Linked DNA regions of Homo sapiens: region 2 is linked to region 1. Evidence: promoter capture Hi-C in human tissues and cell types (Jung and others, 2019). All regions are on one chromosome and are shown on one strand. Each heading gives the region's core, a stretch centred on a gene start or on the middle of the fragment in contact. The rest is flanking DNA. Distances are from core to core; before and after follow the strand shown.

Evidence for each region. Contacts are between HindIII fragments. The study calls those that stand out against the background at their distance.
Region 2: a fragment that was not itself captured here is called in contact with the fragment with the promoter of SLC35G3 in region 1 in 2 of the 25 tissues and cell types used here (mesenchymal stem cells and spleen).

The regions. Positions count from the first base shown.
Region 1 is chr17:35,192,696-35,195,870 of GRCh38, forward strand. It overlaps SLC35G3 (solute carrier family 35 member G3), which reads right to left and starts at 1,698. Exons shown (of 1, transcript NM_152462.2): 1 at 1-1,698. The coding sequence starts at 1,612. The coding sequence ends at 596. The HindIII fragment of the contact is 5,493 bases long and covers 1-3,175 here.
Region 2 is chr17:35,498,329-35,501,739 of GRCh38, forward strand. All of the region lies in intron 2 of SLFN12L (schlafen family member 12 like), which reads right to left. It also overlaps the pseudogene TAF5LP1. Among named protein-coding and RNA genes, the nearest start is that of SLFN12L, 38 kb to the right of the region's middle. The HindIII fragment of the contact is 5,568 bases long and covers 1-3,411 here.

The DNA of each region.
Region 1 (3,175 bases), core at 448-2,947:
AAGAAGTGACTGCATATGATAAAATATTTGTGCCAAAATAAATTCATGGCTTTTAAAATGTCATAGAAATGTCTATTCAGGTATCTTTTTTTTTTTTTTTCACATTCACTGTAATCCTTGTTTGATGTCAATGTCACGTCACCACCCCAAGCGGGGGGCACAAGCACGAGGAAAGGAAACCTTCCCCGTGAGGGGAGGGGTGGGGAGGCACGCTTCCCTCCCCCAGCGCAGCTGCTGGCTCTGTCTTTGCCGGAACACTCCAGCCCCAATGCTCTTCTCTTTGCTGCTGAGTGAAGTCCTCCCCATGGCCCACGGCCTCCCTGCCTCAGCCCTTTGGATCTGCTCCTCAGACTTTACCCCTTAGTTATGCCCTGATTCTAGGACCCAGCCTGGACTCCACATCCCTTGGTCCCAGGCTGGCCCCAGGTCTTCCACGTAGTCCCTCTCCACCAAGTCCCCAAGTCACCCTTGACTCTGAGAGGTATCCCTCTCCCACACCAGTTCTTTTCCAGTCACTTCTCCTCCCATGTTTGTCTTCAGTCTTTGCCTTTATTTATCCCTGTCCCTCCCAACCCCCGGGCTCCCAAGTTCTATCTCACTCCTCCACCCTCCCTGTCCTCTCACAGCTGAGGTTCTGGGCTGTAATGATGGCAATGCTGCCCAGCACAACCCCTGCCGCCACGATGTCAGAAGGTGCCACAGTCTCATGGAGCATATAATACTGCAGTATAAGGGCCACAACCACCTCGGAATGTAGGACAGCGCACACCAGGGCAGGGTGGGCCTTGGTGACCGCATAGCCCACACATGTGAAGGAGACCAAGGCGAGGATCCCCACTGCCCCCACACAACTCCAACTCAGGAGGTCACTGGGCAACACGGGGGCCTGCAGCACAAAGAGGCCTGGCACAGAGCCCAGCAGCCCCACCAAGCCAGATAGGAAGGCCACTGTTGGGAGGCAGGGGGGAAAGTGCAGAGAACGATAGACCAGAAGCCTCAGGGACAGCGCCAGGCCTCCCAGGAAAGCCTCCACATAGCCCAGGGCGGTGTAGACACCCGTGGTCCCCTCCTGTAGTGTCCAGAGTCCAGGTCCCACAATGATGATTAGTCCTAGGATGCAGCCCAACAGTCCACACCAGTCGTAGCCACTGAGACCCTGGCTCTCAAGGCAGAGAGTGAGGACGGCGGAGCAGACGGTGGAAGAACCTTTGCGAACAGTGGCAGCGTTGCCAGCGGGCACCACCTGAACCGCACTGTAGGCACATCCAATGCTGAGGATGTTGAGCAGGGCACAGAAGAAGGCCCGGCTTCGGATGTCAGGAGTTCCCAGAAGGGGGTCGCCACGCAGTTTAAGTAGCAGGGCAATAGGGAGGTGGAAGAGGCATCGCCAGATGAGCAGCTCCAGCGAGGGCAGGTTGGAAGCCTGGTAAGCCATACGAGAAAGGGGGCCCACGAAGCCAGCAGGCAGGCCCCCACCCAGCAGGGCCACCAGCAGGCCACTGGTGGCATCAGAGGGCTGGCAGCGCTGGTACCAGCGGAGGCTGGGTGGAGCGGAGGGCGGCGATGGGTGTGTGGAGTCAGGCTGGTTGAAATAGGGGTGACTGCCAGCCATCTTTCCTTGGACTTTCTCCTCTCCTCCTGGCTCAGGGAGCCTGGGCCCCTCAGAGCTCCAGCCATTGTGACCTCATTGGAGTGGGGGTGGGATTCTTCCCTGGAACTCTCCTGAGGTGGTAGCACGCCTATTTTCCCACTGAGTCCAACTCTGCTTCTTTTCTTTCTTTTTTTGTTTTTTGTTTTTTTTTATTGATCATTCTTGGGTGTTTCTCGCAGAGGGGGATTTGGCAGGGTCATAGGACAATAGTGGAGGGAAGGTCAGCAGATAAACAAGTGAACAAAGGTCTCTGGTTTTCCTAGGCAGAGGACCCTGCGGCCTTCTGCAGTGTTTGTGTCCCTGGGTACTTGAGATTAGGGAGTGGTGATGACTCTTAACGAGCATGCTGCCTTCAAGCATCTGTTTAACAAAGCACATCTTGCACCGCCCTTAATCCATTTAACCCTGAGTGGACACAGCACATGCCCCAGAGAGCACAGGGCTGGGGGCAAGGTCACAGATCAACAGCATCCCAAGGCAGAAGAACCCTTCCCAGTACAGAACAAAATGAAGTCTCCCATGTCTACTTCTTTCTACACAGACACAGCAACAATCTGATTTCTCTATCTTTTCCCCACCTTTCCCCCTTTTCTATTCCACAAAACCACCACCGTCATCATGGCCCGTTCTCAATGAGCTGTTGGGTACACCTCCCAGACGGGGTGGTGGCCGGGCAGAGGGGCTCCTCACTTCCCAGAAGGGGCGGCCGGGCAGCGGTGCCCCCCACCTCCCGGACGGGGCAGCGGCCGGGCGGGGGCTGACCCCCCACCTCCCTCCCAGACGGGGCAGCTTGCCCGGCGGGGGCTGCCCCCCACCTCCCTCCTGGACGGGGCGGCTGCCGGGCAGAGAAGCTCCTCACTTCCCAGACGGGGCGGCTGCCGGGTGGAGGGGCTCCTCACTTCTCAGACGGGGCGGCTGCCGGGCGGAGGGGCTCCTCACTTCTCAGATGGGGCAGCTGCGGGGCGGAGGGGCTCCTCACTTCTCAGATGGGGCGGCCGGGCAGAGACGCTCCTCACCTCCCAGATGGGGTCGCGGCCAGGCAGAGGCGCTCCCCACATCTCAGACGATGGGCCCCCGGGCAGAGACGCTCCTCACTTCCTAGACGGGATGGCGGCCGGGAAGAGGCGCTCCTCACTTCCTAGATGGGATGGCGGCCGGGAAGAGGCGCTCCTCACTTCCCAGACTGGGCAGCCGGGCAGAGGGGCTCCTCACATCCCAGACAATGGGCGGCCAGGCGGAGACGCTCCTCACTTCCCAGGCGGGGTGGCGGCTGGGCAGAGGCTGCAATCTCGGCACTTTGGGAGGCCAAGGCAGGCGGCTGGGAGGTGGAGGTTGTAGCTAGCCGAGATCACGCCACTGCTCTCCAGCCTGGGCAACATTGAGCACTGAGTGAATGAGACTCCGTCTGCAATCCCGGCACCTCGGGAGGCCGAGGTTGGCAGATCACTCGTGGTTAGGAGCTGGAGACCAGCCTGGCCAACACAGCGAAACCCCGTCTCCACCAAAAAAATACGAAAACCAGTC
Region 2 (3,411 bases), core at 369-2,868, 310 kb after region 1:
TGCTGAAGAGTTGGCGGCCAATCTCACGGTACACAGAGAATCTCATTGTGCCGACATAGTGTCTGCAGTCCCTTGCCAGGCAGAGCCCCAGCAATATGAAGTACAGTTTGGACGACTGCGGAATTTTCTCATCGATTCTGATTCCCCGCATAGCCACGAAGTGATGCCTCTCCTTTATCCTCTCTTTGTCTGCCTCCATCTCAGCCTGGTCCAGAACAGTCCAAAAAGTACAGTGGAAAGTTTTTACAGCCGCTTCCATGGAATGTTTCTGCAGAAAGCTAGCCAGAAGGGCGTCATTGAGCAGCTACAGACCACTCAAACCATCCAGGACATCCTATCTAACTTCAAGCTTCGAGCATTCCTAGATAACAATTACGTGGTCCATCTCCAAGAAGACAGCTACAACTACCTTATCCACTACCTCCAAAGTGACAGCTATACTGCCCTGTGCAAAATGTTTATCTTACTTATTCATCTTGATGTGCAGCCTGCCAAGACAACAGACTAACAGCTGTATGCAAGTGGCAGCTCCTCCCGCAGTGAGAACAATTACTTGGAGGCCCCTGATATGCCCAGCCCTATTCTGCAGAACGATGCTGCCCTGGAGGTCTTACAGGAGCGCATTAAGCAAGTCAAGGATGGGTGTCCCTCCCTCACTACCGTCTGCTTCTATAACACCTAGCAGCTGTTGAACACTGCAGAAATCTCCCCTGATAGCAAGCTGCTTGCTGCTGGGTTTGACAACTCCTGTATAAAACTTTGGAGCTTACAATCCAGGAAGTTAAAATCAGAGTCCTGTCAAGTAGACATGTCCCGCATCCATTTGGCTTGTGATATTCTGGAGGAGGATGTGTGAATACCGTTTTTTCTTCCCTGCACCTGCCTTCCTAATTTGCTTAGAATGTCCTTACCAAACACGACATATCTTAGAATGGACTTCCTAATTTTCCTCATCATATAGCTAAAGCCAGACTAATGCCATGTAACCTGTAGCCATTGAATTCCTGCACATGCCTAACCTAAGGTGTAAAAACAATTTTTAGCAACGTAACTTAACATTATTAATGAATGGTAGTATTTATACTATCTGAAATGTGGATAACAACCCTAAGCCTAATTAAAGACCTTTAGCTAATAATGACTTTAGCTGAGATTTGCAGTAAATATGCACTTATGTGTGCGTACATTTGCTCAGGTATAAATAATTAGAAGTAAGATTACTGAGTCAAAGGGCCTGCATTGTAAACTGTAATGAATATTGCTTTTCCCACAGAAGGTTGTGCCATTTCACAGTCTCAGCAGCAGTAGTGAGAACACTGCTGTCCCTGCACCCTCACCACACTGGATGGTATTGCCTTTCTGAGGCCAGTCCGTATCCTGTGGATCCATGTACCCCAGGGTGTTCCCAGACCCCACTTTGAGAAGTAACACAGGAAGTAGAGTTGCTAGCTCTCCCCTGTCAGTCAGTGTTCAACCTTTTTTGGTTTGTAACCATTTAGTCATTGAAAAGGGCAGGCGCAGCTTGGGTTTCAGGTCACTGAAAATCACTACCTTAGAAAAAAATGTAGGCCAAGGAAGATAGAAATTAAACTTCACAGAGTTAACTTTCCTTCAGAGTGTTCCTGCGAAAGCTGTGGGCCAAAATATTTTTGTCTTATCACCACTGAAATTCAGGTAGCTCTGCCTCATGTTACTTTGGATGGAAAATTCTTTATACGATGTTAAAAACTTAAGGATCAAAAATATCACGCTAACTAAGTTACAGTTAATGATAAGGATATCAAGAATATTCGGTGTGCTAAATTAAGCCATTGTTTTCCTGTTTCTGTTTTCTGAGTCTGCGTCCAGTTAGTATGGCCTTTGAATTTTTGATTACTGCAACCGAGACAGTATAATTCAAGGATTTCCTTATGATGAGTAAAGAGTCTGATTCCTACGTAGAAGCTTTAATTTCTAGTATTTTTTTTAAACTAAGGGAGGAGACCACCCCTCATATTGTCTTATGCCAATTTCTGCCTCTAAAGAAAGAAGAAGTAAAAACTAAAAGGCAGAAATGAAATCCACAGGCAGATAGCCTGGCGCCATGCCTCAGGCCTGGTTAAAGATCCACCCCTGACCTGGCCAGGCGCAGTGGCTCACGCCTGTAATCCCAACACTTTGGGAAGCCAAGGCGGGTGGATCATGAGGTCAGGAGATCTAGACCATCCTGGTTAACATGGTGAAACCCCGTCTGTACTAAAAACACAAAACATTAGCTGGGCATAGTGGCAAGCGCTTGTAGTCTCAGATACTCAGGAGACTGAGGCAGGAGAATGGCATGAACCCAGGAGGCAGAGCTTGCAGTGAGCCAAGATTGTGCCTCTGCACTCCAGCCTGGGTGACAGAGCGAGACTCTGTCTCAAAAAAAAAAAAAAGATCGACCCCTGACCTAACTGGTTATTTTATCTATAGATTCCAGACATTGCATAGACAAGCACTGTGAAAATCCCCTGTGCTGTTGTGCTCCATTCTGATTACCGGTGTATGCAGCTCCCAGTCATATACCCCACTGCTTGCTCAATCAATCACGACCCTTTCACGCAGACTCCCTTGGAGTTGTAAGCCCTTAAAAGGGACAGGAATTGCTTACTCGGGGAGCTCGGTTTTTGGAGACGTGAGTCTGCCAATGCTCCTAGCTGAATAAAGCCCTTCCTTCTACAACTCAGTGTCTGAGGGGTTTTGTCTGTGTCTTGTCCTACTACATTGCTTGGTATTCTGACCAGAAAGCGAGGTGATTAACAGACATGGTCTAGGCAGCCCCTTAGGCAGCTTAGGCCTGCTCTGTGGAGCATCCCTGCAGGGGACTGCAGCCAGCTTGAGCAACATGGATCCTGAGAGCACTCCTGGGTAGGCATTTTCCCTGGTGGAATGCCTTGTTAGAGCAGAGCATGGCAGACCCCAATGGAGGATCAATATGGTGGCTGAACACCAGGAGGAACTGGCACTTGGAGTCCGGACATCTGAAACTTGGTAAGACTGGTCTTTAGACCTTGCCCACTCCATTTTAGTGGAAGCATGGCCTGATCACCCACAGCGTGCCTGTACCGGCACTTTGGTTTTTGTTTTTGACTTGACTTGGATTGCTTGATACTTCGGTTTTGGTTTTGACCTGGCTTGGATTTCTTGATACTCTGATTTTGGTTTTGATTCTGGTTTGGTGTAAACTGTAAAAGTGCGTGTGTGCCCTTTTTATCCGTTCTTTGTTTTGTGGTGTGCATGAGGTGTGAGTGTGGTGTTTTGTCTCAAGGAAGCATGGGTCAGGCACAAAGTAAGCCCACCACACTAGGAAATATGTGGAAAAATTTCAAGAAAAGATTTAAGGGAGACTATGGAGTACTATGACACCAGGAAAACTTAAAACTTTGTGTAAGG